Regions from separate parts of the Homo sapiens genome. Here all the other regions are linked to region 1. The links are contacts of gene promoters, found by promoter capture Hi-C in blood cells and fetal thymus (Javierre and others, 2016). All regions are on one chromosome and are shown on one strand. The core of a region is centred on a gene start or on the middle of the fragment in contact, and the rest is flanking DNA. Distances in the headings are between cores, read along the strand shown. Region 1 holds the start of XRCC5 (X-ray repair cross complementing 5). Region 2 has its middle 12 kb from the start of RPL37A. Region 3 overlaps RPL37A-DT (RPL37A divergent transcript). Region 4 overlaps SMARCAL1 (SNF2 related chromatin remodeling annealing helicase 1). Region 5 overlaps SMARCAL1-AS1 (SMARCAL1 antisense RNA 1). Region 6 holds the start of MARCHF4 (membrane associated ring-CH-type finger 4).

Region 1 (4,146 bases), core at 1,079-3,578:
ATTACAAATGAACATGAAATGAGCAGCTTAGGGAAGAATCTGAAGAATACATGATGTAAAGAACAGTTGGAAATAACTAGATATTTAAGTCAGATGAGAAGATTAAAGGGAACATAACAGTTTTCCTCCCCACCATTTTTTTTTCCTTTTTTTTGAGACATGGTCTCACTGTCACCCAGGCTGGAGTACAGTGGCATGATCATGGCTCACTACTGCCTCCATCTCCCGGGCTCAAGTGATCCCGCTACCTCAGCCTTCCAAATAGCTGGGACCACAGTTGCACCCCACCATGCCCAGCTAATTCTTAAATTTTTTTTGTAGAGTTGGGGTCTCACTGTGTTGCCCAGGCTGGTCTCAAACTCCTTGGCTTAAGCAATCCTCCCACCTCCGCCTCCCAAAGTGCTAGGATTACAGGTATAGGCCACCGTGTCTGGCCTCCCCCCAGATATTTGACAACTGTTGTATAAAAGGATTGGTCTGCCAAGAAAGACAACGGGATCAACAGATGGAAGTTACAGGGAGACTGATGCGACTCCATACGAGGGATAAAAAATAACATTTAGAAGTGATCAATAAAGAAACTACTCTTTTTTAAGTGATCTCTTGACCCTAGAAATGTTTTAAAAACCTGAATGAATTCCTATCAGGGAAGTTATAGATGATTTCTAAATGTGGTTATATCTCAGGCAACACATGAAAAGAAAAGATTATTTTTCACTAGTTTACAAACAACACAATGCACTAAGAGATTTCTGAAGTAAAATTAGATTATTTGAAAAAAAAAACGTGCTAATAAACCACAAAATTCCTTTGAGAACAGTAAAATGCACATCCCAGTTTCAATGCCTGGGGCATGATAACCTAAAAAAACTTAAGAGTCACAAAATATGCTGCTGCACTTATTTGATACACACCCACAAAAGCTACTTTTAAACCAGAAAACTCTAGAGGACTAAAGCACTTTTGTCATGAATTAGGTATCCAGTAAGTGCCATCAAAGGGTTTCAAATATGGAACTTATTGTCTGGAAGCAGAATGGTCTATATTTCTGAGTTCCTATCTGGCAGCAGTAAGAAAACTGAGAAAGAGAAACCGGGTAGCATAGCAACTCTTCATTTCTATACCGAAGCAATACAGGCTGTTAGAATTTTACTTCCAGTTCATCTGCAACAAACAGCTCCTCCACTAGAGCTACAAAGTTTTCAGCAGCTGAAAGAGGACGAAAAAAGGAGGTGAGTGGCATTATTAAAAGTTCATGATCGTTTTAATCAACATTTCTCAATGAGGAGTTGAGGGAACTAGGGATCAGTTGCTCAAACTCGTATCTTGTTTATCTGTATTGAATAAATTCATTAATCCCTGGAACCACATCTCCCTCTAGTGACCCTTCAGAGACAACTACCACTCTTTTATGTTGAAAAAAAAAAATCACTTTAAAATTCATTGTAATTTCTGTTACTGATCTGGGACACCAATGGTCATAGATTTCTAGCAACACAGGGGTTCTCCAGGGCCCTGAAACCAGACAGCTTGGATTCAAATCCGGATTTCACCAGGAAAAGCCCACAGTTCTTTATTCCTCGGTTTTCCCACTTGCAAAATGGGGATAAATAGTTTTCACTTCAAGGGGTTGTGAAGATTAAATGAGATAAGAATAAAAGGTTTAGATCCGTCCCTCACAGAGTGGGCTTTCAATAAATGCGGGATACTACGTTATTATAAAGCTAATAATACGACGCTTTACAGTTTAAGTTATTTTAGTCACAGATAGTCCCTCTCTTAAGTTTTACAACAAGCCCTGTGGGATAGTTGCTTTATCACAGCTAATTTTCATTCTCATAGAGATCTTAAGAACCCAGGCTCGGAAGTAATAGAGGAAGTGGGGCTAGGGAGTGGAATGGGATAAAGAGAGAGAGAGGGGAGGCGGGTGGGGAGGCAGGTGAGACAAAGAGCAGGTAGAGAGGGAGAAGAGGGATGGGATGGGTGGGTAATGGAAGAGGTGGAGTCAGCGAGGCTCAAATTCAGGTCTTGGAGCCCCAAATCTCCAGCTTTTCTCATAGCGCATCCCTCGGTCCCGGCCCTCCTGACTGAGCCCACCACCATGATCTTCTCTTGCCCCATTCTTTGTCTTGACCGCGATCCCACGATTCCTGCTTCCGAACCACCCTCTCCGGATCCCCAGTCCGGGTAAAGCCCAAGTCCATGGCTTTCTTTATACCTTATTCCCCGACCGCACCATGTTGCCGGTCCTCAGGCGCTTTGGTCGCTTCTTCCGGGCGGGAACCTGCCGTGTCGCAACTCGCTTCCGGTGGACAAGCGGCAGATAGCGGAAAGAGCCGCTTCGTTTCCTGCTAGGCCTGAAAGGGGCGGGGAAACCGTGCCCCGGAACTCTGAGCATGCGCAGATTCCCGCCGAGCTTGCGCAGATTCCCGCCGAGCTCGCGCAGATTCCGGCCGAGCATGCGCAGATTCTCTCCGAGCATGCGCAGATTCCCGCCGAGCATGCGCAGATTCCCGCCGAGCATGCGCACATTCTCTCCATTCCGCCGTAGTCGGGAGCGTGTGGTGTTTGAGCCGCCTGAAACGCTAGTACGACAGATTTACTTAAAGATTCACTTAATCACTTAAAGATTCACGTCCCTTTTCTCTCATTGAGAATAACACCTAAGGCATTTTGTGTCAGAGCTCTGGAGTTAGATTTCTTTTCTTTTTTTTACTTTTTTAAAAAATCTTTTTTCCTTTAATTTCATTTTTTCATTTATTTTTTATAACTTTTGATTTTTTTTTTTCTCATCACTTGTGGGTTTTTTTCTACTTTTTATTTTTGGTTATTGTGGAGTTAGATTTTCTTGAGTATGAGTATGAATGCAGAAAGTCACTTAACTTCTCTAAAAGACTCAGTTTCTTCTAAAAAGTGATAATGAAACACTTCACCGATGTGATAACCTTAGAGCCAACTGGGGAAGAAGAGTAGGACGTCCCCAGGAGCACAAAAGTAGAAGGGAGATTCTACTCTGCAGAGAAAATGGGATGCACAAACGCCTGGAGGCATGAGACTTTATCTGCTAAGGCTCTCCCAGTAGTTAGCAGTGGCTCCAGCTTGGAAGGGAGGAGTCAAGGTTTAATTTAGAAGACAAGTCTAGGGAGATATAGAAATAGCAGCTGTCATCACAGTGCTTTACTTGATCACGAGCCCTTTGTCCAGCCCGCATCCCCTACCCCTTTGAGGGAGGCAGGCCCAAGCAGTACCTTGCATAGAAATGACTGCTTTCTATACCATATGACCCCCAGCTGACAGGTGGCTGGACGAAGGGTCTGGCAACCTGCAAAGTGTCTGCAAACCTCTGCCCAAACTGAGAAAATCAAGTCCAATCAATATTCTCTCCTGCTTGAAAATTGTTTCTGGGAAAAGCAAGAATTGAAGCTGAAAAGATGTGGAGAATCTATGAGCCAAAATTATAAATACATTGAAGCCTCTAGAATGTAGAGTCAGACATATTCAGAGGTGCTCATAGAGCCCAGGAGGTTCTTCCAGCTTTTGATTCAAACTCAAGGAGTTACTTAAAAGCTGAAATATTATTTTTAATAATACTTTAAAGGAACAGCAGCGCCCTGGCCGCTCAGCTTTGCGCGGGCTGCAGCAGGCAGGCAGGCAGGCACGGACACTCGCCCTTCCCTGCGGGTAAGATTTCCAAGAGAAAGATCAGCTCGGCAGAAGGGGCGGGGAAGATCTGTGAGGTTGTCAGCTAAATCTCCTCCAGCAAAGGTGGAAACGAAGCCCAGCGGAGGCAGCAGGACAGCATAAATTTTCAGACAAAGAAGCAAACAAGGAAAAATGGGAGCAAAGGGCAAACAGGCCAAGTGGCTATCCGGGAAACAAAAGATTTATCTGTGGAAAGCGGAGAAACTGAAACAAGGAGAGTCCAGCCTCTGGTGAAGCAGGACAGAAAGAAGCCAAATCTGATTAGTATCACATACCATATCTTGTCAGTGGTCCTTGTCTCCCTTCTTGTACGATCCAGAGCTAGAGAGAGAGAGAAAAGGAAAGAAACAGACAGGGTGTCGCTCGGCCGAGGCTGGAGTCCAGTAGCACAATCATAGCTCTCTGCACCCTGGAACCCCTGGGCTCAAGCGATTCACTTACCTC
Region 2 (4,146 bases), core at 910-3,409, 400 kb before region 1:
ATATTCCATGGGAATCTAAGAGTCCATGGGAATCTAAGCTTCATGCTTAAAACAGCATACTTGTATTTTCTGGATATTCTCTGGTACAATTTTGTATAAACCATTTCCATTTTGGAATGGAATGCTGTTGCACACATCTAATTTTATAATTTTATAGATCAGATAACATCAAGTTTATAATAAACAGATTCAGTTGCAAAGAAACGTGATGTTCCATGCTCAGGTATTCTACCAGGGTCTAGTAGCAAACCAGACCTAATTTTTAAATAGATAACAGATGTCAGCAGAAGAGGTCATTAATTTCAAATCCCTAGTGCACTACAATTTTTCTTTTGCAGCATCATAGGACATCTCTATCTGCCACTAACACCTCGAATCTACTTAGATTTGCTAGGTCATACAGACCAAGTGCCAGAACAACTTGGGACTACAACTTGGATCTGCTGCCAAGTCTGTTTTTTCTCCAGGCTCTACTGAAAACTCTGACAGACTCCACTCAAGTCTTACAGGTTACTCAGTAAATGGGACAGAGAAGCACACTCAATGTGACTTACTTTGCAACCATCCCCCTCAATCCAAACGGACCCAGTAAAGATTATGTCTCTTAGTTGGGAATAGTCTACAGTGCAGCAACTTGTCTATCACTTCAGGTAGGAAATCCCCAAGATAACCTAAACACCATATTCATATCGTACTGGGTATATCATTCTCAACACTTCCTGATCTCTTTAGGTCCACTTGTTACGTCATCAGTGTAATGGATCAGTATCTTCCCTAAGACACCAAAATGATCAAGATCTTTCTGGATTATATTATAATAGTATATGATGCCGGGCACAGTGGCTCATGCCTGTAATCCCAGCACTTTGGGAGGCTGAGGCAGGCAGATCACCTGAGGTCAGGAGTTTGAGACCAGCCTGGTCCACATGGTGAAACCCTGTCTCTACTAAAAATACAAAAAAATTAGTCGGGCATGGTGGTGCATGCCTGTAATCCCAGCTACTCAGGAAGCCGAGGCAATAGAATTGCTTGAACCCAGGAGGCAGAGGTTGCAGAGCCGAGATCGCACCATTGCACTCCAGCCTGGGCACAGAGTGAAACTCTGTCTCAAAAACACAAAAAGGAATTAATACTGGGAATTTTAAAAAAAAACATTTGTTTACCAATTCATTTAAAAATAACAGTAACACCATTACGTTAACATCAATAACATATGAGTTGTATATGAGTATATGAGTTGATAGCCCTGAAGTAAAACAGTGAAAGTATACTGCTGTCCCTGCAAGTGAAGATAAACTAGTTTTGACTACTTTGCAGATAGGGATGAAAGGAAAAAATACATTTGTTAGGTTAATAGGAGCAGTATGTCATGGCCAGAAGATATGTTGATTTCCTCCAATATAGATTTATACCCAGAATCATAGCTGAGGTTAGTTATGATCATAAGATCATTATTCATGAAAATTTCAGATGTTTGGATAAGCCATTTATCTGTGATTCACCCAGGGATTCCTTTTGTTTTACTGTGTGTAGGAGAGGCAACCCTAGAGGTTTGCACTTGATTTTCCAACCCTAACAGCCCTCCCTCCATGGGCCATGGGTCAAATAAAGGAGTTTCACCATTCTGGAAATAGGGTAAAAAACAAAGGATGGAGCCACCATTCCACATTATCCACTGTGAGATATTCAATCCAAGACATCATCTGCCATCTGACCTCCAAAAGCTCCTACTCTGACCACAGTGAGTGGTCTCAGGTCCCCATGGGGAAGAGTTGGGGGGACTTTGCCCCCCAACTTGTATACTTGTGGCTCTGTTGTAGTGTTCTTCCATCAGTTGAGGGACAAAATCCAAGGGGCATTACCTTATAATTAGATGGTTTATAAAAGAGTAAGTAGTACAAATACAACCTAAATGGTAATTCAAGCTTGATGTGAAGAACATTTGCCCTCCTAAAATTATGGATAATCTCTAATTTCCTATTAGAGATTTATCTCTCCTATGTTATCTGTAGTCTTGGTGGGACCGCCAACTAAGGTGCCAAGGGCCAGAAGTATGGCCCCCAACTAGGCCACTGGACTCTTCTGTTCAGGTTTTTGACTTCTGAATAGTGTCAAGACATAAAACAGACCAGAAGCTCAGCTCCCTACTGGGGATTCTTCTTTCACTCCTCCCTTTGATATCTGTGAGAACGTCCTATTTTATTCCCCTTATAAACCTGATTCTTTAGGTTTTTTTCAATCCTGTGAAGCACTCTATTACCCTCCAATAAATACTTTTTCTGCTTTAGTTACCTGCAGTCAGTCTTTATTGCATGCAACCAAACACTCTGGCTGGGAATTGGGGCAGTGTTGTGATCCTGGCAGCAGGAGTCATGAGCTTTTCCCAAAGCTTAATGCTCTGCCTTAGTTTAACTCAGCTGCTGTGTCATTTGATCCAAATTCTCTAAAGATAATTGATTGGTTCCATTTACTCTATCAGTTGTCCATCCCGGGTCCAATCAACTGAGCATATTGAGAGTGTTCAGTTATGAGAAACAAGAGTACCAAAGGCTGTAGATGACAGTAGTTTTTATTTTTTTTTAAGACAGAGTCTCACTCCGTCGCCCAGGCTGCAGTGCAATGAAGCGATCTCAGCTCACTGAAACCTCCACCTCCTGCCTCAGCCTCCTGAGCAGCTGGGATTACAGGCACGTGCCACCACGCCCGGGTAAATATTGTAATTTTTTAGTAGAGACAGGATTTCACCATGTTGGTCAGGCTGGTCACAAACTCCTGACCTCAGGTGATCCACCCGCCTTGGCCTCCCAAAGTGCTGGGATTACAGGTGTGAGCCACCACGCCCAGACATGATTATGATGGAATCTCTAATGCATTCTACATGCCCCTCTTTCCTTACATGCAATTCCAAAGATGCCCCTAAGTATCACATGTGGAACCAAAAAAGCATTCATCCCTTCACTAATCAACCCAAATTCCCAATTAGCTACCATACCAAGATGCGATACCTTTGTAAGCTGCTTCTCAATCAGAGACTGGTAATGACTATCCTCACAATTCTGCAAAATATGGAGAGTTGATTGGCCCAAGGATACGCAAAACTTCATGTATCAAAAGGAGTAGGTAATCTGATCATCAGAAAAGTATCAAGACTAGCTAACAGAAATAGGATGTATGATGTTACTAAACGGAGAACATGAACAAGTCACTAAACATTTACCAGGTAACAGGCAAAATGAGGAGAGACAGTAGTTTACATTCTTGTGACCATAAAATTGAAATGAGCCAAGACAAAAGTTGGAATATGACACAGATGGCTCAACATACCCCTTTCAGTAGTACCAGCAATTGTGCTTCCTCTGAATGCCTAAGACATTATAATAAAAGTTTTACAAATACTTAAAAATAAGTAGGCTGGGGGCAGTGGCTCATGCCTGTAATCTCAGTACTTTAGGAGGCCAAGGTAGGTGTATCACTTGAGCCCAGGAGTTCAAGATCAGCCTGGGCAACCTGGCAAGACCCCATCCCTACAAAAAATACAAAAAAATTAGCTGGGCATGGTGGCACCTGCCTATAGTCTCAGTTACTCAGGAGGCTGAGGTGGGAGGATCGCTCGAGCCTAGGAGGCAGAGGTTGCTGTGAGCCCAGATCATGCCGCTGCACTCCAACCTGGGTGAGTGAGAGCCCATCTAAATTAATCACCAAAAAAGTAAATTGTAATAGGATATGGGGACCACAAAATGGTCAGACCTTTTCAGGACATTTAAAATCTCCTTTCTAGTACTGTCATTTATTAAATCATAAAATAACAGAGGACCCATTTTATCCCAGACTCTATTATGGGGAGTAGATTGCAAAAATGGCCATAATTCTGTATCTACATGCTTTGTAATTTGTAGCTTGTTGCATCAAGAAATAGAGTATATCTTCTTACTCCTTAAATCTGGATTCGCCTTGAGACTGACTTCTTTGTACTATACTGCACAAGTAATGATGTGTGAGCTTCAATTACCCTGCCACTGCCCTGTGAGCCAACCCAGGATAGCTGCTGACAGACACATGACCCAGGCACACTTACTGCTCCAAATGCCACCCATCAGCCAAATATGAGTGAGGCCATGCTAGACCAATCAGTTCCCCACTGACCTA
Region 3 (4,146 bases), core at 650-3,149, 380 kb before region 1:
GGTGAGTCAGCTTCATGCTGGGGCAGTCCAGGCAGAGCTGAGGTGAGCCATCCTGGGCTGGCACTAGAGCCTAATTCAGATCATCATTTAGCAAATGTGCTGCCTCCCCCACGCCCTCCGCTGCAGAGCCTCCTACGTCTCTGGCCTTCAGGGGGGTCTGAGAGAGAGAGCAAGAGAAGAGGGAATGCATGAGTAGGAATGCAGTAAGCGGCTGAAAATGAGACACTCCATAATAGGAGGAAATTGTTCATGTTCAGAGCAATTTTGTCAAAACTGAACAATTATCTTTAAATAGCAAGCTTGAGGATGTACAAATAGCACTCATGAAATCAGCTCTGAGTGACTTCAGAGAATCGGCCCTCTCCTAAAGTCTCAATTTGTCTTTTCTGTGGGCTCATAAATTTCCATCCCTATTAGAGTACCATCCGGTGTGGAGAATGTTAACTATAATGTGTCCCCATAAAAGACTCAGTAAAAATCACTGCTGGCTCACCTCTGCTCTTAAGGAGCCCTCAACATTCACTCTTTGCCTTTAGAAAAATAAATAAGTTAAAAGTCACCTCCAGAGAGGAGTTCTTGTAGCTGTTAACCAGTTCTCTTGGGGCATATGGAACATTTTATTCTTGAAAGAAATCTGAGGTGCAAGCATCATTCCAAATTCATCTTGTGCTGGAGACAGAAAGGGTTTATTGGGGCGTGGTTCCTTCACTTCATGCCTCAAGAGAGCCTGCTCTCCACAAAGCCCCTGGGGGCCACAGACAAGAGTGGGGCCTGCACAGCATTGTTGAGAGTCCCGTGAGGCCAGAGCCACAGGCAAGAGCTGACCCAGCAGGAAAGGTGAGGCCCTCCAAGGCAGTCCTGGATGCCCCGAAAGAATAAGAGTGTGGGAAATTGACTCAGGCAACCCCTCTTTCCTTTCCTCCTTCTCCCCTCAAATTCCATTTAAACTCGTTCTAGTTATTAATGGACCCGTCACAGAGCATTTACACAGGAAGTGCACACATAAAGACTGGAGTAGTTACTTGGCAACTCTTAAGTGGGATAAGGTATGTTAAAAGGAAAACTTTCAACAAATTAAATTTAACAGAGTTTAATTAAGCAAAGAATGATTTGTGAATTGGACAGCCCCCACAACCAGAAGAGGTCCGGAGCAGCTCCAGGGTTGCCACATGGTTGGTTCACATTTATGGACAGAACAAAGAAAGTAACATACAGAAAAGGGAAGTGAGGACAGAAAGAGCTGGATTGGTTGCATATTTGCCTTATTTGAACACAGTGTGAACGGTTGGCCACCTGTGATTGGCTGACATATGGCTGCGGTAATTGCCTGAGACTTGGCTACTTGTTACAAGAGTGGGTCCCAGTCTGTTTACCAATCTAGTTAGGTTATAGTTCACTCTGCACAGAGAAACCTTTAGGCGGACTTTAAAATATGTAACAAGGCAGCACTGGGTTAAGCTTAATTTAACGAGTAGCAGGAGGCGGAGGTTGCAATGAGCTGAGATCGCACCATTGCACTCAAGCCTGGGCGACAGAGACAGACTCTGTCTCAATAAATAAATAAATAAATAAATAAATCATAATTTAATGGGTAGATCAATATGAAACAATGGCCAAGTACATCATGTGAAGTGAGTCATTTTCAGTATGAAGAATTTGATACAGTTTTTGTAAAAACAGATTCTATGTGTATTTTACATATATTTGTATGCATAGAGATAAATTACAAATGGCTTTATCTCAAATTATTTAGTTATTACTTCTAGGAGGTAGGGCTGAGGGAGGGAGGGAGGAGAATGCAGGACTCTTATTTTTGAGCTTATACTTTTCTAGATGAATTTTTTTTTTTAGACAGAGTCTCTGTCTGTTGCCCAGGTTGGAGTACAGTGTCACGATCTCGGCTCACTGCAACCTCCGCCTCCCGGGTTCAAGCAATTCTCCTGCCTCAGCCTCCTGAGTAGCTGGGATTACAGGCGCCCGTCACCATGCCCAGCTAATTTTTTTGCATGTTTAGTAGAGATGGGTTTTCACCATGTTGGCCAGGCTGGTCTCAAACTCCTGACCTCAGTTCATCTGCCGCCTTGGCCTCCCAAAGTGCTGGGATTACAGGCGTGAGCCACTGCGCCCAGCCTTAGATGTATTTTTACATCCAGTTCATAATATTGGAAAGAAGGCACTGCAGAGCAGTAGGTGGAAGGACCGTCTTTTCCATAAGTGGTGCCGAGCTAACTGCATATTCATATGGAAAAAATTAACCTTGGCCTTACCTCACCCCATATACAAAAATAAACTGCAGGTGGATTGTAGATCTAAACATTAACGGCAAAACACAAAAGCTTCTGCAACATACTATTTTCTTTTTCTTTTTTTCTTTCTTTCTTTCTTTTTTTTTTTTTTGAGACGGAGTCTTGCTCTGTTGCCCAGGCAGTCTCGCCCTGTCGCCCAGGCTAGAGTGCAGTGGCACGATCTCGGCTCACTGCAACCTCTGCCTCCCGGGTTCAAGTGATTCTTCTGCCTCAGCCTCCCAAGTAGCTGGGACTATAGGCATGCACCACCACACCCAGCTAATTTTTGTATTTTTTTTTTTTTTTAGTGGAGATGGGGTTTCACCGTGTTGGTCAGGTTGGTCTCGAACTCCCGACCTCAGGTGATCCACTTGCCTCGGCCTCCCAAAGTGCTGGGATTACAGGCGTGAGCCACCACACCCGGCCTCACAACATACTATTTTCATAACCTTGGGGTCATGGTTACATGGATGTGTATTTTAAAATATTTTGTTAAACTAAATTGTTTTATGAACTGTTCTGTATATTATATTTTGCCCCCAAAAAAAGGAGTTAAAAAAGAGAAAAAGAGCCTCAAAATCTGTTGAATAGGGGGTGGGAGAGAAATGTGTGCAGAGGATCTTGCAAAATCAGATAACTGTTGATTGTCATAATGCCCAAAAGACTGTGACTCACAGGCTTCTTAATGCTTTCTGCTATGGTCAGGAATTCATTTCCTTCACTGAGACTGCACAGGAAAACACAAAACCAAAACAAAACACAGGTAGAAGAGACTTCTCCAATTAACCCTCTTTAAACTTCCGAGCCACTTTTTATGTTGATAATTCTGAACTTGGTGAGAAGTGGGAGGATGGAGTAAATATAAGGTTGGACTTCATTCTCTCCCCTTTGCAAAAAAGAGGATAGAACTTCAAAAAGCGTTGAGGTTCTAACAGACGAGAACGAACAGACAAGACAACACCTCAGAGCCAGTGGTGTGGGGATGACACCTCCTGCTCAATTTCTCAGCTCTCCCACTGATCTAGAAAAAGGCTCCTCTGAAGCCAAGAAGGAAAAAGACATGATTAATTCAAGCACAAGTGGATCAAGACTAACAGGATTCTTTGCTGCCTCTTAGAGGTTTCCTTGATGCCAGCCCTAGAGGCAGAAATCAACCAGGATCACTCAGGAAACAAGATACCACTTAGTGACCCTGGTGAGGGAAGGCAGAGACCAGCTCCATGGGCCAGAGGGGACTTCTAGTAAAATCCTGTAAGGGTACAATTGATGGCAGGGACAAGAGTGGGAGGAGATGGGCCTAGATTTTCTTCATTTCAGTTGACGCTTCCAGAAAACACAGTTCTGGGGGTCTGGACTGTGCTGTGAAATGAAGGAGGAAAAGGAGTTAGTGTGGAAATATTAATACCACTTTAAACCCAGTGGTATTCACTCTCTATATAAATAAGTCCAAGTGTCTTTTGCTGAATTATACAGAACTGGTTAGGTGACTCTTAACAAATTTCAGAGTACATATGGGATGGTCTAACTTAAAATAGGCTACATGGTATAAATAAAATTTGCTTTGGAGGACCTCAGGGACATCTCAAAGAGAGAGTTCGTTTTTCTCCAGAACAGCTAAAACTGAGGTTCAACTAGAGGCCTCAGATGGAGGCCATATTTACTAAGACTACAGACAAATAATGGTTTTAAATATGAGCACCAGGCGGGGTGTGGTGGCTCACGCCTGTAATCCCAGCACTTTGGGAGGCCGAGGTGGGTGGATCACCTAGGGTTAGGACTTCAAAACCACCCTGGCCAACATGGTGAAACCCCATCTCTACCAAAAATACAAAAATTAGCCAGACGTGGTGGCGGGTGCCTG
Region 4 (4,146 bases), core at 587-3,086, 330 kb before region 1:
TGAAAAATGATGATCTTGCTCAATAATTGACATGCTGGAAAAATAAGCTGTTAACAGTGGCTTTTTCTGTTGGAGGGATTAAAGGTAATTTTAACTTTGTTCTTTTTAGCTTCTATCTGGTCTACTTTCATATATTTATATATAAAAATAGATTTACCTCATTTAGGATTAGTAGCCCCAGCCAATAGTGCTGTGGGGGAAGAAAAATGTCACGTTTCCCAGGGGACAGTGACACCAATTTCTTACAATCTAACACACCTTCTCTCTGCTGACTGCTATTGCTATTTACAAAATCCACATTTTTCTGGACACGATCTGGCCCTGCTATCCAACGAACTGTATGATTTAATCTAAATACCTCATTATGCCTATTTGCTGAAAATATGCTTGTAATATTAATTATCAGAATATAGTTCTAAGAGATGTTCATATTAGAGGAACAATCAAGTGGTATTAAATTAGGTCCTTATATGGCTTTTCAAAGACATACTTTACTTTTTCCCAACTATCTTATTATTCCAAAAACATTTAGATTCATTTCCTTATTTAGATTGGTGGTTCTCCATGGGGTTGGAGAAGGGCAAGGTGAGTAGAGAGTGATTTGTCCTCCCTCAGAGGACATTCGGTGGCATCTGGAGACAATTTTGGTTGTCATGACTGGGGAGGAACTGCTGGCATCTAGTGGGTAGAGGCCACGGATGCTGCTAAACATCCTAAAATGCACACAACAGCCCCCCAACAACAGAGTCATCCAGCCCAAAATGTCAACAGTACCATGGTTGAGAGACTCCAATCTAGACGAAAATACAATAAGACAGAGATGAAAGGTTCGGTTAACAGAATAGCACAGAATGCTCCATCCCACTCCTTCAGCCCAATCCTGCCACAGTCCAGCATTATATGAAGTCAACGTTGCGGAAGAGCGTGGCCCCAAGACACCTTCATAAACACAGGCCATGTTCATGAGGCTTATTTTAAAATATTAATTCATCCAAGTTCTACAGCAAATGCAGAGTAGTACATATTAGTTAGCAGTTTAGAGATTTCTTTTAAACATGTCACTTTGAAACACACTCAAGATATTAAAGAGGTATATGCTGCTTCCAAAGGTCTGGCTGAGAGGCACACATTTCAGAAACCACTATCTGGCTCAGCTTGCCCAGCCAGGCAATGACTACATTAACAAGTGGTTGCTAGAAGCTTTCACATTGTATCTTTAATGATAGAATCTATCTATTGTGCATTTTCTTTTGTCTAAACAATCAGGAGTAAAGATTTAATTTAGTTATGGCTGAAATACTGAAACCAAAATACCTAACCCTATTGTTTTCCTATGGAAAGCATATTAAGGCCTCCCAAAAGAAGGGTCATCAACCTAGGAAAAACATTTTATTTAAATGTGTCCATCAATGGCTATTGACATATAAATATTTATAGGTAATACTGGCAGAGAATCAAGCTTTTTTTTTTTTTTTCTTTTTTTGAGACAGAGTCTCACTCTGTCACCCAGGCTGGAGTGCAGTGGCACAATCTCGGCTCACTGCAATCTCTGCCTCCCAGGTTCAAGCGATTCTCCTGCCTCAGCTTGGTGTGCACCACCATGCCTGGCTCATTTTTGTATTTTTAGTACAGACGGGATTTCGTCATGTTGCTCAGACTGGTCTCAAACTCCTGGTCTCAAGTGACCCACATGCCTCGGCCTCCCAAAGTGCTGGGATTACAGGCGTGAGCCACCACCCCAGCAAAACCAAGCTTTTGCAGTAAAAGACTTTTATTCTTTGGTTTGGCACATGACATGACCCTGCCTTGGAAGATGTATCATATTCCGTTATTCCTAAACACATGAAAACTTGAAATGAGTGGACACTTACGTGTGTTTTGTGAGGAAATGTTAAGATTAATGTTCAAATGCTAAGCTTCATTAACATTCAGCGTATTTGTTTTCCCTAGTTTAGGTAAAAGTTAAAGCTTCTTTTAATCAATAAAAGCCATAGTTTTAAAATGCTGGTACAACACAAAGGTTGCTTTGAGCACAAGAAAAACACACACTTTGGTTTGCTCAGTCTACACAAACCAAAGTGGATACCTCCAAAGTAATCTGTGAGAAACTTCTAACTTGTTACAAGAGAAAAGGCTACTTTTCTAATTGTACTTCTCCTTCCCTCTTACAATAATAGGAAAAAAATCATCCCCCCCCCCCATAATGGAAGGAAATTTGGAGGACTACCCTCTGTTGGGATGGGGGACTAAGAAACCAAACACAGAAGAGAGAGACAGATGAAATACAGAGCCTATATTGCACATCAGAACATGCTTAAAGACTAGAATCTGCATCACATACCCACGCCTGCTTGCTGTGAAGCCAGAACTCACACCCGCCAAAGCACTCAGAAATGAGTTTAGGCCACCACAGGGAGGAAGGGGGATGGCTGCCCCTTCTGTCAACCAAAGAGGCTCAGGGTAGCCACAGAAAACAGTATCAGCTTTTAAGGCCCATCTTAGCTTTGCCAGTGTATCTCGCTGACCCCGCCAGCCCTTGCTCAGTTCTGTTTGTATTAGGTTGATGCAAAAGTAATTGCGTTTTTTTGCCATTACTTTCATTAATACAACTCGTCTTCCCTGATTTCCAGCATCTAGGCAGCTTTGCCACTACAAGTGACTTAGAAGACAGGCAGTTTTTTCTAAGCTAATTAGTGGACAAGCTGCTAGAGGCTCTCTCTTATCTAAGTAGGAAGCCAGAGGAGGATTCTGGAGTCCAATGCCCACCCAGCCTCAACAGTCTTGACCTTCGAGAGACAAAGGCAGCACTACTGACTACTAGTACTGCCTACTAGTTCCTTAGCAGGATGTTAGGAAGAAAGATGAAATTGGTACCACAGCCCTAAGGAGAGAGACAGATGCCCTAAGTCAATGCCAAGTCATGACCATGGCCCACAGGTCTATACTTGCAACCCCTGCTGGACTAGGACGACATGCAAGCCTGAGCAAAATATTATGGGATGCCAATGCTCAGTGGGCTCAGTTCTCAGAAGTACTCACCTTTAGGACCGGCATAGCTGCTCGACAGCGGGCAGTCCTACTGTTTTTGAGGAAGTGAGATTCATCCTGAAAAGAAGTAGCCACATAAGTGTACAAGATCCAATCCTGAGTGGACAGAAATATGGGTCACTTTAGGCTTGACCCTGGCATGGCAAGTGCAAGGTGGATGCTCCCTTAGCACTTTCTCATTCAAGGAGATGGCTCACTGGGCCTAGGTCAGGACCCAGGGGTCTGGTGGCAGCTTCTCTACTGCATTCTGAGCAAGTTGCTTCAGCTCTCTGGGGACAATTTTCCATCTATAAAGTGGGATTCATGAATCCCTGCTCCGCCCACCTCAGAGGCTGCTCAAAGAAACCACTAGAAGGTGGTTTGCTGCTTTGTAAGAGGCACCTCCCACCTGTGGAGCACTAGACCAAGTGCCCCATAATGGGCCCTGCACTGGTGCAAAGCTCTGGGGTGTCCAGCCCCTGCCCTCAGGGGCTCAGGGTGCAGGAAGGATGCCAGACACACTGACAACCGATCAGGCTGTATTATCAGTACTGTCACTGAGGCGAGTGTAAACAAAGTGCTGGGGAAACTGAGAGACGGAAAGAAGACGATATGATTCCTATTCTCAAGGAACTGCTATGTTTAGAACATGAAGTCTGATTAACCACTCTGTATCTGTGCATAAGCAAATACATACATATATATATATATAGTTTGTTTTTCTTTATTCTTTTTTTCTTTTTGTTGCATAAGCAAATATAGAGTTGATCATATTTTCTAAAGCCAAATGAGTAACTAATACATGAGTATTTAAGTGGAAATTTTCTAGTTTGGTACAGAGTCAAATTCCTTGCTGTGTGACTCTGAGCAACCACCTCTCTGTAATGCCAGTTTTGCTGTCTGTAAAATGGGTATCATAATTCCTTATGTATTAGGTTGCTGTGAGTCTGAAATGAGCTAACACATGTGAAGTCCTTAGCACAGCCCTGTTACTCAGTAAGCACTCAATGGTATCAGCCTTCCTATAGCTGGGATACCAGTGAGATCCCAACGCTGTCCTTAAAGATGATCTATAAGAAATCCCCTATTCCATTTCAGCTATCATGAGCAAAAAGGGCC
Region 5 (4,146 bases), core at 890-3,389, 290 kb before region 1:
TTGGCATATATCCCTTCTAAGGCTCTGTATCTAATTTTGTATTTTTTTGGTAAAAGTGCTCCCCCCAAATTGTATGAGCTTCAGCACACCCAAAACTTGATTCTGCTCTTCTTCCATTCTTAACTCCCGCATCCCATTCCCTTCCCAGCAGGCAGCCAATGTCATCCATTTCTTTTTTTAAAAAATTGTTTATTTTTAATTGACTTATAATAATCATGGATATAATTATTATATTTCAATTACATAATCAATTTCTTGCATATTTTTCTGGATATATTCTATGCACATTTAAGTAAAAACATTTATTTATCTTCCCTTTCATACAGATGGCAGTGTGCTATATACACTGTTCTGCACTTTTTGCATTTGTCTTGGAGTAAATTCATCTCTTTAAATTTTGTTTTTTCCATCTGTAATATGGAAATAATTGTACCTATCCCATAGACTTCCTGTTAGGATTACCTGAGATCATGTAAAGCACTTAGCTCATTGCCTGGAATACATTAAGTAATCAATAAATGTAAGTTATTATTCTATTAATGTTTAAAATATACTACAAAGCTACAATAATAAAACTAGTGTGATATTGATAACATATTAGCAGACTGATGAAACAAAGTAAGAAGCCTCTTCAACTTGGTCTTTATGATTTGTGTGCAAGATACTGTTGCCAACAGATGAAATACAAACACTAAAAAGAAAGTTTGTCTCAAGGAACTTAAAGACTAGGAGAAGAGAGAATACCTGTGTGGAAAATATAATAAAAAAAGAATTGTGGATAAGATCAGTGCAGTGGTGTGTGCCTGTAGTCCCAGCTGCTTAGGAGGCTGAGTCAAGAGGGTTGCTTGAGCCCAGGAATTCAAGGCCTTAGTGGGCTATGATTATGCCTGTGAATAGACACTGTGCTCTAGCCTGGGAAACATAGTGAGACTCCGTCTCTAAAAAGAAATCAATCAATCAATCACAGATAAATGGCCTTGGGGGTTTAGTGAGGAGCTCTGATGATGGAGACACAGGGAATACAGAATCAGGAAGGTTAAGCGGATGAAGTGGTGTCTGAACTGGCTAAGTAGAAATTTGGAATCCAGCAATAATAGGAAGATGGTGGTTATGGCAAGGATGATCCAATCTGATGGAAGCACAAATGCTGAGAAAAATCTAGTTAACCAAAATAATGTGTAAAAGAGTTTATTCTTTAACATAGAGTTATAGATTGGCAGGATGTTTTCCTATATGACACGATCTCTGGGGTCCTTTCTACAAGTCTGAACAAGTAAAAGAGAGCCAGAAGTCCCTTGGCGGGGGATAAGATGTGCATTTTGATTGAATTTGGCATCTCAATCTAACTCCTAACTGCATTAAAGGGGGAAAACATTATCAATATTAACAAAACTGATCCCTCATGAACAGACTCAAAGTCTAAATCTTTAGCTAGCACTTTATCAATAACATGTTCTAATTACATGTGAGGCTTTGAAAATATACCTCTGTGTGATAATTGCTGGAAAGCAGATTTTAATCCCAGGAACTTATAAATTGCAGTTGTAAAGATGCAATAGAGAGCTTATCCATTGACACTATCTAGTGTCATTTGCTTGCAACTGCAGATATTGACAGGACGCTGCTTGGAACAATGGGTGCCCTGTCCCCCTCTATGACCACCACCCCAGTTGATCAAGTGTATAAGTGACAGTTTATATGCAAAATGGTCCAAAGGCTACCTGATCACCCCCCAAGGCCACATGGGGCTTTGAGGAAACTGAATGCAAAGCCACGTGTTAGATAAAATAAAGCTTATATCTTCATCCCAGAAATTAAAAAGCCCCCTGGCAAAGTCAGCTTCCAGAAAAGCTGAGGCCTGAAAGAAGAACCAGTCCCCCAAAGCTCTATCATTGGATTGAATTGTTTCAGACCTGAGGAGGAGGGAGCTCCTGAAGCTGGGCCCACCCTGGGACATGGAGGGTGGGCTTCTTCTGCCATCTGCCACCTCTTTATTCCAATGCCTTCTCCTCTCAGTCTAGATTTCCCTGGGCCCCCAGTCCTCGCCCAACTAGTGTGTGCTGTTTGTGTGATCAGCAAATCATTTAGGGAAAAGCCTTTTAATTAAGAGGAGAGCAACAAATTATTAAGTCAGAGTCATTTATTACCCTGCCATCTGGCCAGACTTCCTTCTGGCCCCCCTTCTTCCTCAACCAAGCCTGCACAGACATATAAAGTAACAAAGAGAATGGAAAAAGAGGAGACTTCTTTCTGCCTGGACTTGGAAAGAACTGTCCAGCTCCTCCTGGAAGCAGGGTAAGGGTTCTAGGAGGACTTTTCCACACCCTTTGTATACTGTAGTAGCCAAGTCTTGGTTTTCCTCTCCTGTAGAACAGGGATGATGAGGTCTACCTTAGGGCTTCTGGATGCCTGGCCCAATGGCTGGTATAGTGGAGGCACTCAGGAAACAGAAGCTGAATCTGAAGCCTGCAAATTGGAAGCTTTGTTATGGATGGTGGCGTCAGCAGTAGTGGAGACAGTGATGGCTGGAGGGAGCCTACTAAATGTTTCCATCCTGCAAGCTCAGCTGGCTCTCCCTCTGTTGTGACCCACAGAGGTATTCCCTTGCTGTCTCCCTGCAAATGCCAGGGAAGCTCAGGAAATTCATGCCCACCCCTTGCTCCCGTCCCCAACCAAACCTAAATGCTGGGACATTATTCTAAGAGAAAGACAGCTGGAGACCACAGTATCTGGTTCAGGCATGATGAGAAGGACTGAGCAACACTTAGAGTAGGAAGAAGCTAAGGAATCACACATAGGGGTGTATTTCAATAGCCAACAACTCAGAGAGGACTATGCGGGATACATGATAAGACAGGCACTATTTCCTAAAAGCAAAACACCACAGTTATGACAGCTATGAATGAAAACTAATACAGGCATATTGGAGACTCAATTACCATGAGTGGTGTGGCAGTCAATGATGTGATTTTCCAAAAGAGTGAGCAAATCTGGTAAAGAAATTAACAACACAAACTCTAATCTTCCCTTAATTTACAGAGTAGTTTCATTCTTAGCATACAGTTAGTGCATATTAAAAATCATTTTTAAAAAGTCTCTCTGTTTACATATAAAATTGTTACTTTTTAAAGCTCAGATAGTTATAAGCAAGTTATAAACAACTCTGTAAATATCTAGTAGAACATTTGAAAATTGTGTGGAGCATAGGGTAAGTATATATGAGATGGTGAGATTGTCTCACAGATAGTAAAAGATTGAGCTGCCTGGGGTCCCAGCCTCTACTTGCCAGAAGTAAGCCCCTTACCCATCATTGGGGCAACCAAAAACACTCCACACTTTTTCAAAATGCTCCCTCGTGGGTGATCCTGTGCTAGACTAAAAATTGAAATGTGAATCAAACTAAATTAATGTTTAAAAAAACCTTACTTCGACACAATCAAGAAATTTTGAATTTGAATGGATACATGATGATTTGAAAGAATTTTTGTTTTGTTAGATATGATAATTGTCTTAGTCCATTTGTATTGCTGTAACAGACTACCACAGACTAGGTAATTTGTAAACCATAGAAATTTATCTGGCTCAGGGATCTGGAGGCTGGGAAGTCCAACATGGAGGAGATGCATCTGGCGAGGGCCTTCTTGCTGTGTCGTAACCTGGCAGAGGGCATCACATGGTGAGAAACCTCTCCAGAGCAAGACAGCAAGAGGGGGCTGGATTGCTTTTATAACTATCCCACCCTGGAGACAACTAACCACTTCTGCAATAATGATTTTAATCCATTCTTGAGGGCAGAGCCTCCTGATCTAATCACCTCTTATTAGGCCGTGCCTCCCAACACTTTTGCCTTGGTGAGTAAGTTTCCAAAACACCAACTTTGGGGGACACATTCAAATCATAGCAATAATGAAATGGTTTTACATAAAAACACATTCAAACATGCATATACTCATATCAAAAAATCAGGCTCACAATAAAATTTCAGTAGTGACCATGTGAGTACAATATATCTTTGCATTTTATAGAAAGTATATCTTGGGGTGGCTACTCAGCTCCCAAAGACTCACTCATCTTGTGGAACTTCTTTAATACAATACTCAAGGGGACCTTAGTAGTGGAGTTTGTGTCCCTTACTCCCCTGTCTGT
Region 6 (4,146 bases), core at 575-3,074, 260 kb before region 1:
TGGCGTGAAATGAAAAATATTGATTGCTTCCCACCTGTTAGCAATGAAATCCCATCCAGTTAATTAACCTGCTCAGAGATAAAGTTTATTTTTGCCCTTCACTTTCAGCTCCAAATCTTTAAAACCATTAAAACAAGTACCTGGTCAATGAATAAATCTTCTCCCAGAGCGACATCCAGGGTCTTCTGGAATCTGGCTCCAGCCTACCTTTCTGACATTTCCTCTAGCTACTTACCTTTGAGTACCTTCCACCACAGCCTAATGGAAAAGCTAAAGTATTCAGCGCTCCCACTGCCAGGAATATGCCTCCCTCCTCTAAATTCCACATATTTTAACTCAGTTCAAATGTCACTTCTTGAAAAAGGCTTTCAAAGCTTTCCCAGAGCTGTGGCAACTATCTCCACCTCCCCCCTCTTCCCACCTCTCCTAATTGCTGCCAAGCTGTAAGCATTATCTCCCTATTTTGAACACTCCCCAAACTTTGTATGCTTTTGTAACACTTACTATTTTATGCTTTATATTATGACTACATACATATTTATAGTACTAGACCCTTGAGGATGCAATTCCAACCAGTTTGTGCTCCCCACATCTTTCAACACAATTCAATGCCTTACCGATGATGGGTGTTCAGTAAATATTTTTTGAATGTCTAAATAGGAACCCATTGATTTAATATGGTCTTTATGGTTGTTTTTACTCTGGAACTCATTAGACAATAATGGGGATTTTACTTTTGGGCTCATGATTAGGCAGTTAGTAAGAAGAATCTAACTCAGTGAAGTGTTTTACAAGATTTACATTATATTCAAAACAGGCCTCTTAGGCTTCTCAATCTTTTTTTTTTTTTTTTTTTTTTTTGAGACGGAGTCTCACTCTGTCACCCAGGCTGGAGTACAGTGGTGCAATCTCAGCTCATTGCAACCTGCACCTCCCTGGTTCAAGCAATTCCCCTGCCTCAGCCTCCTGAGTAGCTGGGATTACAGGTGCACACCACCATGCCTGGCTAATTTTTAATATTTTTAGTAGAGACGGGGTTTCACCATGTTGGCCAGGCCAGTCTCGATCTCCTGACCTCTGGCAATCCACCTGCCTAGGCCTCCCAAAGTGCTGGGATTACAGGTGTTAGCCACCACGCCCGGCCACTTCTCAATCTTTCTAAAGGCAGTCCTGTTGTTGCTTCCTGTCCTTAGCAGTTCTCTGTTTCTAGAAATCTTTTCACTTTCAGTGGAAGGGTTGGGAAAGGCAGTCTTGTTATGGACATCATCCCTTTCTTTCTTTCTTTCTTTCTTTCTTTCTTTCTTTCTTTCTTTCTTTCTCTTTCTTTTCCTCTTTCTTTTTTTTTTTTTTTTTTTTGACAGAGTTTCCCTCTTGTTGCCCAGGCTGGAGTGCAATGGTGCAATGTTGGCTCACGGCAACCTCCACCTCCCAGGTTCAAGCGATTCTTCTACCTCAGCCTCCCGAGTAGCTGGGATTACAGGCATGTGCCACCACACCTGGCTAATTTTGTATTTTTAGTAGAGACGGGGTTTCTCCATGTTAGTCAGGGTGGTCTTCAACTCCCAACCTCAGATGATCCACCCGCCTCAGCCTCCCAAAGTGTTGGGATTACAGGCATGAGCCACCATGCCTGGCCGGACATCATCCATTTCTATGACTCTGGATATAGGTCTCATATGGCATTTCTATCTCCTGCCCTAATTTACTTGCACAACACACTTGGAGCTAGAATTTAATGAGCACAAAACCCTAAAACTCAATTTTAGGTAAAGCAGATATTCAGTCATATGTGGGAGCACTCACATGTATGTGTCCAGGCTGAAGGGGAGAAATATGGTAGCTTCACTGAAATAAAAAAGCCACTTATTTATTCAGAGTCCATTTTCTTGAACACCTACTTAACTTCAGGTGCTGCATTATGTGCTGGTGATACAAATATAGATACTGATCCCAGCCTTAAAGAAGCTCTGAGTCAGACAAAGGGAGATGAATGTATGGTGAGATAATTATTATATAGACTATGATTTCTGCAATACCAGAAACAGATACAGAGTGATGTGGAACACAAAATATTTTCTTGAAGAACAAATAGAATTTTTGAAATAAAGAGGTTTTTTGTTGCTGCACAGTATTTGTGCTGATATTAATCAATAAATATTATTTTGTAGTTATTAAAAATATTAGTATCATCTTTAAATGAGCACCTTGGGCTGGGTCTCAGCATCCATGGTGAGTCCTGGGGCATGATTCAGACAAGTAGCCATGCTGGGTTAACCAAGACTGAGATGTAGGTCCTTTCTCCTTAGAGCTTGTAGGAATGAATCATTTCATAGAGATGGCAGCAAAGGGGTAGTTTTCTTATGACTCATTGGACTGAACTTCGTTCCAATGATATTTTGCTGCAGAAATTTTGCATGCTACTCTGTCTATGGCTCCAATATTTGTAAAGGCATTACCATGGCTGTTTGGATGAATCACTGGCATATCTTCTCTATGGCCCTAGAGGGGTGTGTGTGTGTGTGTGTGTGTGTGTGTGAGAGAGAGAGAGAGAGAGAGAGAGCGGGGTGGGGGAGAGAGGTTTATAAGGAAAGGCAAAAAAAGCAATCCTAAGTTTTCAGTGACCAAAGTCTACAGCTGCAAACACTGAGGTTTTATATAGACCACTTTAAGTTTCCTTCTTTTTCTTGCTCTTCACATTTAGGGGCACTTTGCTGCTCAAGAAACTCCTTGAGAAAAATAGGGTAGGGTGACATGAGTCAGTAGCAGAAATAGGAGAGGAAATTAAAATCCATTTCAAATTACCTCTTGTCAGCGGCTCAGTGAAAGGCTTGAATAGGGAGGAGGCTGGGGATGTTGGTGAAGACGAAGCTGAAATATTGCTCTGGATTCTTATGACTCACAATTGAAAGAGCACTGTGACTTATAGTAATGATGACTGTGGTGATGGTGGCCACAAGCCATTCAACAAATATGCATTGAACATTTACTAGATGCCATCTCTGACTTAGGCACACGGGATCAAATGAATTAAAAAAATTATCTCTGTCAATTGGAGCTTAAATTCTAGGCGAAGAAGCTGACAAAAAAATGGTACTAGCAACCTCCTCCCTGTTTGAAAATTTGAAGCATTTCCTTCTCATGTCTCAAGCCTCAATGAAACATTTCCTTCTCATGTCTCATGTCTCAAGCATTTCCTTAGTCATGAGGAATTTAATCTCCATCAAGTCCCAGCTTCATTGTGGAAGTCACAAAACTTTATCTCCTCGAAAGCTTGCAGACTGAGATCTACTTTAAATGTTTATGTGAACAGAGAAACGGTCTCTGGTTGACAGGTGTCTGTGTCTTGTATGTGCAATGAGAGGAGCTGTGATAGTGGACAGTGGGCAGAGAGTCTACAACCAGACCTTCCACACCGACACGTTCCTGCTGAGGTGAAATGCAAGAGTTAGTGCCTGAATCGCTCCCCTCCCTCCCCGTGGCCTTTCTCCTTCTTTCTTTTACTCTTCACTTCGCTCCCTCCTCCTTCCCTTCCTAAATCCCTCCCTCTCCTGGTTACCTCCCTTTCCCTTGGTCCCTCCCCATCCCCTTCCCTCGCACAGTTCTCTCCTCCTCTTGCTCCCTCTCCCTCCAGCTTCTTTTCCTCTCATCCCCTTTCCCTCCTCCATCCCTCCGCGGCGTCTGCGTCAGGCCCCCACGAGCGTGACGCGCGGGGTCTGGGTGGGAGCTGTCCACTCGCCCGGGGTGCTGAATGCAGCAGCGGCGGCCGCGGCGCCGGCGGCGGAGATAGCCGAGAGCCTCCCTCGCTGCAAGAACCTTGTTTCCAGTTCTCGGACGGTCAGCTCGCCGCCCCGCCACCTCCCTTCCAGCACCACCCCTTTGGGAATCGAGCCAGTGGGGGCAGCGGCGGGTGCTGAGCAACGGCGGAAGACGAGACAACACCTGGCAGCAGCCTGGAATCTGATTTGCTTCCTCTCGGCTTTTATAAGAGATATATTTATATACGGTTTTGGGGAGTCGCGAGGACCAAGCTGGAGCCAAGTGCCGGCTGCCTCCCACCTCGGCCACACTGCTTCGCTCCCCCCTCCCCACCTTCAGCTGGCACCGCAAACAAGCCTTACCTCGTTGCATCTGCGAGGAGAGGTAGCA

What was found. Contacts are between HindIII fragments. The CHiCAGO score rates a contact against its expected background, and 5 or more counts as called.
Region 2: a contact is called between a fragment that was not itself captured here and the fragment with the promoter of XRCC5 in region 1, in 3 of 17 cell types (naive CD8 T cells, total B cells and total CD4 T cells). The highest score is 6.7, in naive CD8 T cells.
Region 3: a fragment that was not itself captured here is called in contact with the fragment with the promoter of XRCC5 in region 1 in 6 of 17 cell types (neutrophils, total B cells, total CD4 T cells and 3 more); the score reaches 10.1 in neutrophils.
Region 4: a fragment that was not itself captured here is called in contact with the fragment with the promoter of XRCC5 in region 1 in 6 of 17 cell types (naive CD8 T cells, total CD4 T cells, endothelial precursors and 3 more); the score reaches 6.5 in naive CD8 T cells.
Region 5: a contact is called between a fragment that was not itself captured here and the fragment with the promoter of XRCC5 in region 1, in 10 of 17 cell types (neutrophils, activated CD4 T cells, naive CD4 T cells and 7 more). The highest score is 16.2, in neutrophils.
Region 6: a fragment that was not itself captured here is called in contact with the fragment with the promoter of XRCC5 in region 1 in 2 of 17 cell types (naive CD8 T cells and naive CD4 T cells); the score reaches 7.0 in naive CD8 T cells.

What each region holds. Positions count from the first base shown.
Region 1 is chr2:216,107,530-216,111,675 of GRCh38, reverse strand. It overlaps XRCC5 (X-ray repair cross complementing 5), which reads right to left and starts at 2,328. Exons shown (of 21, transcript NM_021141.4): 1 at 2,219-2,328. The coding sequence starts at 2,239. RefSeq lists an enhancer at 1,983-2,604. The HindIII fragment of the contact is 16,954 bases long and covers 1-4,146 here.
Region 2 is chr2:216,508,355-216,512,500 of GRCh38, reverse strand. No RefSeq gene overlaps it. Among named protein-coding and RNA genes, the nearest start is that of RPL37A, 12 kb to the right of the region's middle. The HindIII fragment of the contact is 464 bases long and covers 1,928-2,391 here.
Region 3 is chr2:216,489,086-216,493,231 of GRCh38, reverse strand. The region is part of intron 1 of RPL37A-DT (RPL37A divergent transcript); the gene reads left to right. Among named protein-coding and RNA genes, the nearest start is that of RPL37A-DT, 7.6 kb to the left of the region's middle. RefSeq lists an enhancer at 606-665. The HindIII fragment of the contact is 878 bases long and covers 1,461-2,338 here.
Region 4 is chr2:216,437,379-216,441,524 of GRCh38, reverse strand. SMARCAL1 (SNF2 related chromatin remodeling annealing helicase 1) reads right to left here. Exons shown (of 18, transcript NM_014140.4): 10 at 3,040-3,105. Among named protein-coding and RNA genes, the nearest start is that of SMARCAL1-AS1, 27 kb to the right of the region's middle. The HindIII fragment of the contact is 164 bases long and covers 1,755-1,918 here.
Region 5 is chr2:216,397,728-216,401,873 of GRCh38, reverse strand. All of the region lies in intron 1 of SMARCAL1-AS1 (SMARCAL1 antisense RNA 1), which reads left to right. It overlaps LOC107985984 (a long non-coding RNA gene), which reads right to left. Exons shown (of 3, transcript XR_001739880.2): 3 at 2,126-2,466. Among named protein-coding and RNA genes, the nearest start is that of SMARCAL1, 13 kb to the left of the region's middle. The HindIII fragment of the contact is 687 bases long and covers 1,796-2,482 here.
Region 6 is chr2:216,371,933-216,376,078 of GRCh38, reverse strand. It overlaps MARCHF4 (membrane associated ring-CH-type finger 4), which reads left to right and starts at 3,596. Exons shown (of 4, transcript NM_020814.3): 1 at 3,596-4,146. The HindIII fragment of the contact is 2,896 bases long and covers 377-3,272 here.